2 separate regions of the Homo sapiens genome follow, and region 1 is linked to region 2. The links are contacts of gene promoters, found by promoter capture Hi-C in blood cells and fetal thymus (Javierre and others, 2016). All regions are on one chromosome and are shown on one strand. The core of a region is centred on a gene start or on the middle of the fragment in contact, and the rest is flanking DNA. Distances in the headings are between cores, read along the strand shown. Region 1 overlaps FAM81A (family with sequence similarity 81 member A). Region 2 holds the start of SLTM (SAFB like transcription modulator).

Region 1 (5,259 bases), core at 202-2,701, 540 kb after region 2:
CACTTAGTAGATGTCTTGATTATCAGATCAAAAAAACATAGTATATGTAGGGTTTGGTACTATCTGCAGTGTCAGGCATCCACAGGAAGTCTTGGAACGTGTCCCCTGCAGATAAGAGGGTGCCAGGGTATGTTACAAAAAATACAAACTTTTCCCATGTTTCACATTAGAAAATACTGTTACTTCCCCATTCTTAGAATACCCAGCACTTTCCTGTGGGAACTCAGCTCTGTTCCCTTTGCTTACGGGGGTGGGGGAAGACTAGAGATGGGAGTCAGTCTATTCTGACATTACCGTCCCCTCCAGGTAAAAGCACAGTATAACTCTACCCTTAAGAAATCCTGGTCTTAATTTTTTCTGTCAACGTAAGAGGTGATAGTGTTTTAGCTGCAACTGTCGGATCCAGGGAATAATTTCCTATTTGGTAGCTGCCACGTACTACTCCAGTGGCCAGAACCACTTTATTTTATTTTATTTTTTTAGAGACAAGGTCTTGCTATGTTGCCCAGGCTGGTCTTGAACTCCTGGGCCCAAGCAGTCCTCTCACCTTGGCCTCCCAAAGTGTTGGGATTACAGGCATAAGCTACAGTGCCCAGCCAGAACCATTTTAAATACATAATTTCCAACTTCAGCTGGGCCACTGATGCTATTTAACAGTTCCTTCATTTTAGGAAGCCCTCCTTGCCAGTTCCTCTCATGCCCCCAGTTTCCTTTCCCTCAGTGTATCCTGGACACTGAACTCGTGCCACTCTTACTATAGCATTTATTGAATAGGACTAACATTGTTACTTTACAAGCCTCTCAAAAAGAGAGGAACCTTGTCTTCCTCATCTTTGCATTGTCTAGTACAATATTTGGAGCAAAATGCGGTGAATGCTGTCATAGTATATTTGTGTTGCTATAACAAAATACCTGAGATTGGGTAATTTATAAAGAACAGAAATTTATTTCTCACAGTTCTGGAGGCTGGGAAGTCCAAGCCCAAGGCACTGGCATTTGGCATCTGGTGAGGGTCTTCTTGCTGCATGCTTACATGGCAGAAGGTGGAAGGGCAAGAATGATGAATCCTGTGTCCTCACATTGCAAAAGGATTGAACAGAGTGGACCTCCTCCCATAAACCCTTTTTATAAGGGCCCCAGTCCATTCAGGGTGGAGCCCTCATGACTTAATCACCTCCTGAAATACCACGCCTCTTAATACCACCACAATGGGGATTAAGTTCAACATAATTTTTGGAGGGGGTGCCATCATTCAAACCTCAGCAAATACTTATTAAGTGAATAAATGCCCAATACAGAGTGAAGCCAGTTGTAGATATGCTGGTAGCAAAAAGGACTAGAAGAGACTATGAGGTTATCAATGCAAAGAACATCCTTTTCAGATAGGCTGAGTGAAGTGGCCTGAGGTATCAAGGCCAGTTAGTGGCAGTGCTGAGAATAAACCCATGTGGCAAAACTCCAAAAATATGCTCTTTTCTCTTTTCTACTTTACCTCTTAGAAGCTCTTCTAGAACCTGATCTTCTATAATCGACTCTCAAATGTGACAGGCTGTGCTATTCAGCCATTCTTTGCTTTCTGAGTTTCAGGAAGAACTTGTTTATGAAACTAGATAATTCTAGCTTTAGTTCTCACTGAGTTCTCCCCTGACCCATCCTTGCTTTGATGAGAGATCACTTGAATTGCTTCAATAATCAGCTGTATCAAAAAATCTGCCTAAGGAATCTGAAGTCATCAATTGTTTAGGCTTTTGATAATTATTTTTTCCAAAACCTTTTTTTTTTTTGAGACAAGGTCTCACTCCCTCACCCAGGCTGGAGTGCAGTCGTGTGATCTCAGCTCACTGCAACCTCCGCCTCCCAGGTTCAAGTGATTCTCATGCCTCAGCCTCCCAAGTAGCTGGAATTTCAGGCACACCACCACACCCGGCTGATTTTTGTATTTTTGTAGAGACAGGGTTTCACCATGTTGGCCAGGCTGGTCTTGAGCTCCTGTCCTCAAGTGACCAACCAGTTATGTATGGCCTCCCAAAGTGCTGGAATTATAGGCATGAGCCACCATGCCTGGCCTAAACATGTTTCTTTAAGATGATTTTTGAAAAATTTACAATGCAGTGAGAAAGTAATTTCAATTTTGCTGTTTTCCCAACGTCCGAAACACATTTTATGTAATGGTTATTCTTGCCTTAACCAGACAGCACTCTTTTATATTTACATGTATTTTTGGAGTGTGCAATTTTGCAAGTGATGATTTCCGTGATAGACAGGGAAAACTGAGTAAAATCTAAATTTGGCAAAAAATTTAGTTTGTATTTGAGTGTTTACTTTTTTTGTAACTGGTAGTAACTATATATAATGACAAAGTAACAACAAGGAAGTTTAAAAATTTAAGACTCCAATGTGAAACACTAATTATATTGATTTATATGTATTATGAACTTAAGCATGTCTACCTAAACATGTTAGGATGCTTGATGACAGATCAGAATTGCTGTCTTATAGCCAAACTTCATTAAAATGAAATCATGATTGTCTTAGTTTAGGCTGCTATGACAAATTACCATAGACTGGGTAGCTTAAACAACAGAAATTTCTTTTTCATGATTCTGGAGACTGGGAAGTCCAAGATCAAAATGCTGGTAGATCCAGTGTCTGGTGAGACCCTGCTGCCTGAATTGTAGATGGTCGTCTTTTCGTATCCTTGCATGGCAGAAAGTAGAGAGCAGAAGCAAGACCTTCTTTTAAGGTACTAATCCCATTCGTGAAGATTCTACCCTCATGACCTAATCACCTCTTATAGGCCCCACCTCCTAATACCATCACATCAAGGGTTAGGAGTTTAACCTACAATTTTTTTTTTTTTTTTAGACTGGGTCTTGCTCTGTCATTCAGGCTGGAATGCAGTGGTATGATCATGGCTCACTGCAGCCTCAACCTCCTGGGCTCAAGTAATCCTCCTGCCTTGGTCTTCCGAAGTGCTGGGATTACAGGCATGAGCCACCACGCTTGGTGAACATATGAATTTTTGGAGGACACAAACATTCAGTCCGTAACAATGATGTAGAGTAAATTTAAAAAGTACTAAAAGGAAGTCTTCATTTATAAGTAATATAAAAATTGGCACCAGGCACGGTGGCTCACGCCTGTAATCCCATCACTTTGGGTGTGGGATCCACAAGGTGGGTGGATCACTTGAGGTCAGGAGTTCGAGACCAGCCTGGCCAACATGATGAAACCCCATCTCTCCTAAAAATATATATAAAAATTAGCTGGGCCTGATGGCATGTGCCTGTAATCCCAGCTACTTGGGAGGCTGAGGAAGGAGAATTGTTTGAACCTGGGAGGTGGAGGTTGCAGTGAGCCAGGATCATGCCACTGCACTCCAGCCTGGCTGACAGAGCAAGACTCCATCTCTAAATAAATAAATAAATTGGGAGAGTGGGCATAATATAAAACTGATACTTGGCCGGGCGTGGTGGCTCACACCTGTAATCCCAGCACTTTGGGAGACCAAGGTGGGCAGATCATGAGATCAGGAGTTCAAGACCAGCCTGGCCAACATGGTGAAACCCCATCTCTACTAAAAATACAAAAATTAGCTGGGTGTGGTGGCAGGTGCCTGTAACCCCAGCTACTTGGGAGGCTGAGGCAGGAGAATCACTTGAACCCAGGAGGCGGAGGTTACAGTCAGCCGAGATCGTGCCACTGCCCTCCAGCCTGGGCAACAGAGTGAGACTCTGACTCAAAAAAAAAAAAAGCAAAAACAAACAGAAAACAAAACAAAGAACAAAATAACCTCATACTTGTAGTATCAGTTTTAAAACAGAGGTGTGAAGATATTTAAATTGTATTTCAATGATGTAAAAGGTGTATTTTTTATTTATAGATTCTTGAAGAATATCTTCTGTAAATTGCCTGAGTTTTTATTATTATTATTATTGCTGGTTTATAGCTGTTTTTCAGTTCACGCAGTAAAATTTTACTGGGTTATTTGATTTTTGAGAATCATCCCTGCAGGTGATTTTATATTACAAAAGTAAAGCTGAAGCCATTCTTAAGATGTGAAACTTACTGCTAGACCCTGATAGAACTAGTCAAATCGAGATATATTAACACTGTATCTTGGCAAATTTGCCTAGATAAGTCTTTATGATTTTCTGTCATGTGACTCTGAACAGTTATACACTGGAAAAAAAGTAAAATATGTTTTCAAACCATTACCCTATGTGATCCTCAAGAGCTAGAACAGAGTCTTAATATTTCTATTTTCAACACCTACCAATGTCTAAGACATAGTAGGAGCTCAATAAATGTTTCATAATCAAGAGCTCTGGGTCTCCTTGCCCCTTCCAGAACCCTATAATTATTGCTTATATTCTTTCAGCAGATACCAGTGTCAAAACAGATGACTCTTGTATACTAATACACAGTAAGTGCTTGATAAATGTTGAATGGAAGAATTTATTGTTTTAATACATCTCCATCCACAGTGTCTGTTAGCGGTTTGCCTTGTGATATGGAGAAGCTTATCAATTATTTATTCCTCAGAAACTTTCCACCAATGATCATCATCATTATAAATTTAGAGGAAGTAATATAGTCAACTATGAATTATACATGTCTGGGTTATCCATACTGTCTTTGGTTTAAGCCGTTATCGGTCCCTGGAAGCCGAGCCCTGGTGAGCAGTCCGTGGTCCTTTTATTGGTGGTAAGCTTTCCTTTCCATGCCAGTTTGATGGCTGGGGGTAGTAGTTTGGACCCCCATGTCTTTTTATGGCTTTAGCTGTGTCTCTGGCCTTTGGGAACCATGCAGTGGGGTCTGCCACCTGGCTGGTTAGAATCTGCGGACCTACTTTAGTTCCCATGTGCTCAACTTCATGATGTCCTTCTGGCTTGGAATGTTGGCTTTAACCTAGTTGGGTTATGGGAAACTGTATCAAGCCCTCATCTAATTGAATATATCATACGTAGTTTGCTAGTTTAATAATTTGCAAAAGGACTACTGGAGTTTTTGAACTTGAGCGATGAGTGCAGCATTGGGCTTTACTAACATGGGAAAGCAGGGGCGTAGACAGTGATGTTAACATGTAGTCGGACTAACATACAGGACCTTGGTTCAGTGTGCTTCCAGTACTGCCAATGAGGAAAGAGTTTTGGCTACTGGACTTCATGCATTTTACTGAAAAAGGGAATTTCAGCCTGCAGCTCTGTGATCTGGTTCTATTGAAACAGGTATATCAGCGGAGGGGTTTTGGTGATT
Region 2 (5,076 bases), core at 342-2,841:
AAGCATCATTACACAACTTGACTTTGTAATTTTTTCCGGAAGCAATAAAGAACTGTTCTCACTTTCTAATCAGCTTCAGCCGAATCTTAAGGGCTACAAGTCACCCAAAGCCTGGCAACAGTAACTTTTCTTCCTTGACCCAAGAAGGCAGACTGCCAGAGGGAAATAGCAAAGAGTAGCACTATATAAACAGGGCAAGAGGCACAAGAGCAGAGGCAAGTTATATAACCAAAATATATTTTAAAACATGTTCATAACTCGTAACAACCTTTGCCTTTAGTTGGTTTCTTGTTTGGAGTATCAGTTGAAACAGTTAATTCAATATTATCTGGATCGCCTCCTTCCTCTTCAATAGCCTACATTAGAAAGAGAAGTTAATATGCTACACAATCTATCTAAACTTATTTTATAAAAACGAAATGAAAAAAAATTTAGCAAACCTCAAGCCTCAAGACATTAGAATTGCCAGTCATTTCATCAACCGACTTCAAAAATGAGCAATTAAACTACACGAAAGAGTGAGAGAAACTTTCAGGGGAAAAAAATCATTAGGTATCAAAATCGCAAGGAGTTTTAAATTCTACCGTGTCAAGATAATTAAATATCACATCATACTGGCCAAAAATCCAAATATGTTCTATTGCAGAAAAGTTGCTAGCTACTAAAGTAAATAACTAAAAAGAGTTTTCCTAGTTTCTGTAATGCAAACTTACTGCTCCTCTGCTACAATTCCAACGCTCACTCAAACCAGAAAGCTAATCAGGAAAGAAAAAGTAATTATTGCGCTGATGCAAAAACTAAAAGCCTAGTGGAAAACAAAAACTCTGTCACCCACCCATCAACTCCCACTACCAATTCCCCCTCAAGATGGGGAAGAAACGGTTGGGCACAATTAAACGGTAACTTCGCAGAAGTCACCAAAGTAACCATTCCCTCTGAGGCCAAGAAATGCACACGCTCACCATGGCTAAAGGCTGGGGAGCCAGCGCCTCCCAGGTCTCCGCGATCGCCCTTGGGAGGCCGCGCCGGCCGGCCGCAACCCTCGCAGCCTGGCGGGGACGTCCCGGGGAGGCGGAGGCACGCTGGGCTGCGGTGGCCGGTCCCTCGCAGGCCCGGCCCGGCCCGGGGCGCGGGGCGGGGGCACCGCGGAAGGGTCCCCGTCCTCCACGCTCGCGGGAGCCGCCCCTGGCCTCCCTACCATGCCGTTCCGCAGGTCCCAGCGGCTGCGGGCAGCCGGAGGCTGCGGCGGAAGCGGGGCGCCGAGGCGCGGCCTAAGTTCCCCTTCCCGGTCCTTTCCGGTCCTCGCCGGGCCTCACCTGCTTGAGTCGGGAGATGAGCACGGTCTTGACTCCGGTGATGTCTAAGTTCCGCCGCTTCAGCTCGGACTTCAGATCGATGACCCGCAGATCGGTGATCTTTTTACCTTCCGCCTGACCCGAGGCGGCCGAGGCTGCCACCGCACCGGTAGCGGCAGCCATCTTAGAAGAGCAGCGCGCTGCCGAGGCAGCGAGTGGGCTGCAGGGCGGCGGCAGCAGCGCCAACTTCCACCCAGGCCTCGGCGGCCGCCGGCGCCGCGCAGCGCTGCGCACAATGAGCCGCTGGCCCCTCCCCCGGTCCGCCACCCTAGCGCAACCTGCAGCAGCAGCCGCCAGCACCCGGATGACGGCCGCGCGTGCGCGTTGGCGCAGGGACCGGCAGCGGCGCGCTCGGTCGAGCGGGCCGCGGCCACTTGGGCGGTGCGCTCCCTTGTGTGGACTGGGAGGTCGGGCACGTCCTACCGCAGCAACGTCCGCCGCGCCGCCGTTCTCTCGTCGCTTCGTTAGCCATTTTCTTGCAACGTCTTGAGTCTTGAGCAACAACGATGTGCGGGCACTGAATGACATAGTGCGCGCGTTACTCAACACAAACCGAGGGGGCGCGTGCGCGCGCTGAACCTCTCAAGGAAATACTTTATCAGTTCTGCTGAATAATCGAAAAATTGTCGCCGGTGTGCACCAACGAACTAGGTTCCCCGAGTTCCATTCAAAAGACCTCAAAGCAGTTCTAGGGCTGTTAGTCCAAAGAATAGGAAGGGCTGGCCTTTGACACATGGCTCATTGGCTGTCTCAGGAGAAAACATCATCGCCCTGCCCATGGCAGCTTAGGTTATTCTAGGGCTGCCCTTCCTCACTTGAAAAACAGGAAAACTTCTTTCTTGTTGGCCTCAGGTTTGCTATCCTCCCCGGTAGACCTGATGGCTCAACACGAAATTGTTCAATGAAAGAGAAAACTAGCTTATAAGTACTTGTTGCCGTTATCATATACTGTGTTCACTATTTTGCCCCCCAAAATTTGGGATTCCAAGAACAGTGAGCATCTTCTTATGGAGGATCGGCCTGTACAAGTGAGTACCTATTTGTAATTTTACCTTGTATTATTCATTATCAAAGTGCAAGCATTGATAAAATAAAACGATTCTATAAATTCCATAAGGTGATTATGATGCACAATTAACTATACTGTATTTCCTGGTTTTACAACTTAAATTCCTGAGATCTGACTCACTTTAGGTTACTTTTTCTGATTGGCTCAAAAAAAAGGAAGACTGGACATTATAAAAGAATACCTGACATTAGGGTAGTTCTTTACAGTTTATAAGGCACTTTGACGTACAGTAACCCCCTTAATCCTTCCCAAGTCTGTCAAGTAAATCTCCGTGAGGCTTAGAGAGATTAAATGACTTGCCCATGTTCACACAGCTGGTATGTGGCCGAGCTGTGCTCAAATCCCAGGCTCCTGATTCCAAATCCAGCTCTGTCTCTGCTACAACATTGGATTCACAATAATAGAAGTTTAGAATGCAAGACTCCTTAGAAATCTTCTGGCCCATCACTTGAGGTCAGGAGTTCAAGACCAAACTGGCCAAGATACAGGGTTTAGTAGAAACCCCGTCTCTACAAAAAATACAAAAATTAGCCGGGTGTGGTGGTGAGCACCTGTAATCCCCGCTACTCGGGAGACTGAGGCAGGAGAATCACCTGAACCCGGAAGGCAGGGGTTGCAGTGAGATCCGGCCGCTGCACTCCACCCTGGGCAACAGAGCAAGATCCTGTCTCAAAAAAAAAAAAAAAGTCTGGGTGCTGTGGCTCATGCCTGTAATCCCTGCACTTTGGGAGGCTGAGGTGGGTGGATCACTAGAGGTCAGAAGTTCAAGACCAGCCTGGCCAACATGGTGAATCCCCATCTCTACTAAAAATACAAAAAATTAGCCGGGCATGGTGGTGCATACCTGTAATCCCAGCTACTTGGGAGGCTGGGGCAGAAGAATCGCTTGAACCCAGGAGGCGGAGGTTGTAGTGAGCTGAGATCACGCCATTGCACTCCAGCCTGGGCAACAGAGCTAGACTCCGTCTCAAAAAGAAAAAAAGAAAAAAAAATCTTCTGGCCCAGCCCTCAAGATTTTAAGAGATTTATCTGGGAACTTACAGTTACACTCTCTCTTTTTTTTGTTTTTGTTTTTATTTTTATTCTTTTGACAGGGTCTCACTGTGTCACCCAGACTGGAGTGCAGTGGCGTGATCATGGCTCACTGCAGCCTCAACCTCCCAGGCTCAAGTGATCCTCCCACCTCAGCCTCCTGAATAGCTAGACTACAGGCGCCTGCCACTATGCCTGGCTAATTTTTGTATTTTTTGTAGAGACAGGGTTTCACCACGTTGTTGCCCAGTCTGGTCTCAAACTCCTGGGCTCAAGTGATCCTTCCCCCTCAGCCTCTCAAGTAGCATGCCAGCACACCCAGCTAATTTTTCTTTTCTTTTCTTTTTTTTTTTTTTTTTTTTGTAGAGACAGGGTCTCACTATGTTGCCCAGGCTGGTCTCAAATTCCTGGTCTTACACTATCCTCCTGCTTCAGCCTCCCAAAGTGCTGGGATTACAGACGTGAGCCATCACACCTAGCCCGAACAGGCTTTTAAACCTTTCCTACCTTGAAACATCTTCATTTGACTCAGCTATTTCCTTTTGACAATAGTTACATTATTGTGTACTTATCTTAATGAAAAGCACATAGGTTATATTAAATAGTGATGGGGAGATAAATCATATAGATGTCTCTCTGAAGATAATGAAGATGTTTGACAAAACACTTTGAAACTTTTTTTTTTTTTGAGATGGAGTCTCACTCAGTCGCCCAGGCTGGAGTGCATTGGCACAATCTCGGCTCACTGCAAGCTCCGCCTCCCGGGTTCACGCCATTCTCCTGCCTCAGCCTCCCGAGTAGCTGGGACTACAGGCACCTGCCACTATGCCTGGCTAATTTTTTTGCATTTTTAGTAGAGATAGGGTTTCACCGTGTTAGCCAGGATGGTCTCGATCTCCTGACCTCATGATCCGCCCGTCTCGGCCTCCCAAAGCGCTGGGATTACAGGCGTCAGCCTCTGCGCCCGGCCTACATTTTGAAACTTTTTAAAACATAAAAACCATAAAAGAAATAACAAGGTAATGAGAAATTACTGGGCCAAAATTTGAGAGAAGGCTGAAATCTAGAGAGATGAGACCACCATTTGGAATAAAAGAAGCTGTTTGCTAATGCTGAAAGACAGGTGAGATTTGAGCACCACTTTTGGGTGATTTAAGGGATAAAAGGTGGAGCCGAGTCTGCCAAAGGAAGGGGGCCTGATTTGCCATCCCAAACTTAGTTTTTTTGTTGTTGTTTTTTGGGGTATTTTTGTTTACTTTGTTTTTTTTGAGACGGAGCCTTGCTCTGTCACTCAGGCTGGAGTGTCGTGGCCCAATCTCAGCTCACTGCAACCTCCACCTCCCGGCTTCAAGTGATTATCCTGCCTCAGCCTCCTGAGCAGATGGGATTACAGTCATGCGCCACCGTGCCCAGCTAAATTTTTGTATTTTTGTAGAGACGAGGTTTCACCATGGTGGCCAGGCTGGTCTTATGCTCCTGACCTCGCTGTTCTCGAACTCCTGACCTCGAGTACTCTGCCTGCCTCGGCCTCCCAAAGTGTTGGGATTACAGGCATGAGCCACCGTGCCTGGCCCCAGACTTACTTTTGAGACACTAAAGGACTGCTCTCTAGAAGAAAAC

Evidence for each region. The method cuts DNA at HindIII sites, captures the fragments that hold promoters and counts their contacts. A CHiCAGO score of 5 or more calls a contact.
Region 1: a contact is called between a fragment that was not itself captured here and the fragment with the promoter of SLTM in region 2, in 9 of 17 cell types (activated CD4 T cells, non-activated CD4 T cells, total CD4 T cells and 6 more). The highest score is 8.2, in activated CD4 T cells.

The regions. Positions count from the first base shown.
Region 1 is chr15:59,473,379-59,478,637 of GRCh38, forward strand. The region is part of intron 3 of FAM81A (family with sequence similarity 81 member A); the gene reads left to right. Among named protein-coding and RNA genes, the nearest start is that of FAM81A, 38 kb to the left of the region's middle. The HindIII fragment of the contact is 6,137 bases long and covers 1-4,520 here.
Region 2 is chr15:58,932,088-58,937,163 of GRCh38, forward strand. SLTM (SAFB like transcription modulator) reads right to left here and starts at 1,592. Exons shown (of 21, transcript NM_024755.4): 1 at 1,317-1,592; 2 at 269-356. The coding sequence starts at 1,478. RefSeq lists silencers at 949-1,208, 1,579-1,758 and enhancers at 1,259-1,498, 1,789-1,928, 1,949-2,038. The HindIII fragment of the contact is 26,250 bases long and covers 1-5,076 here.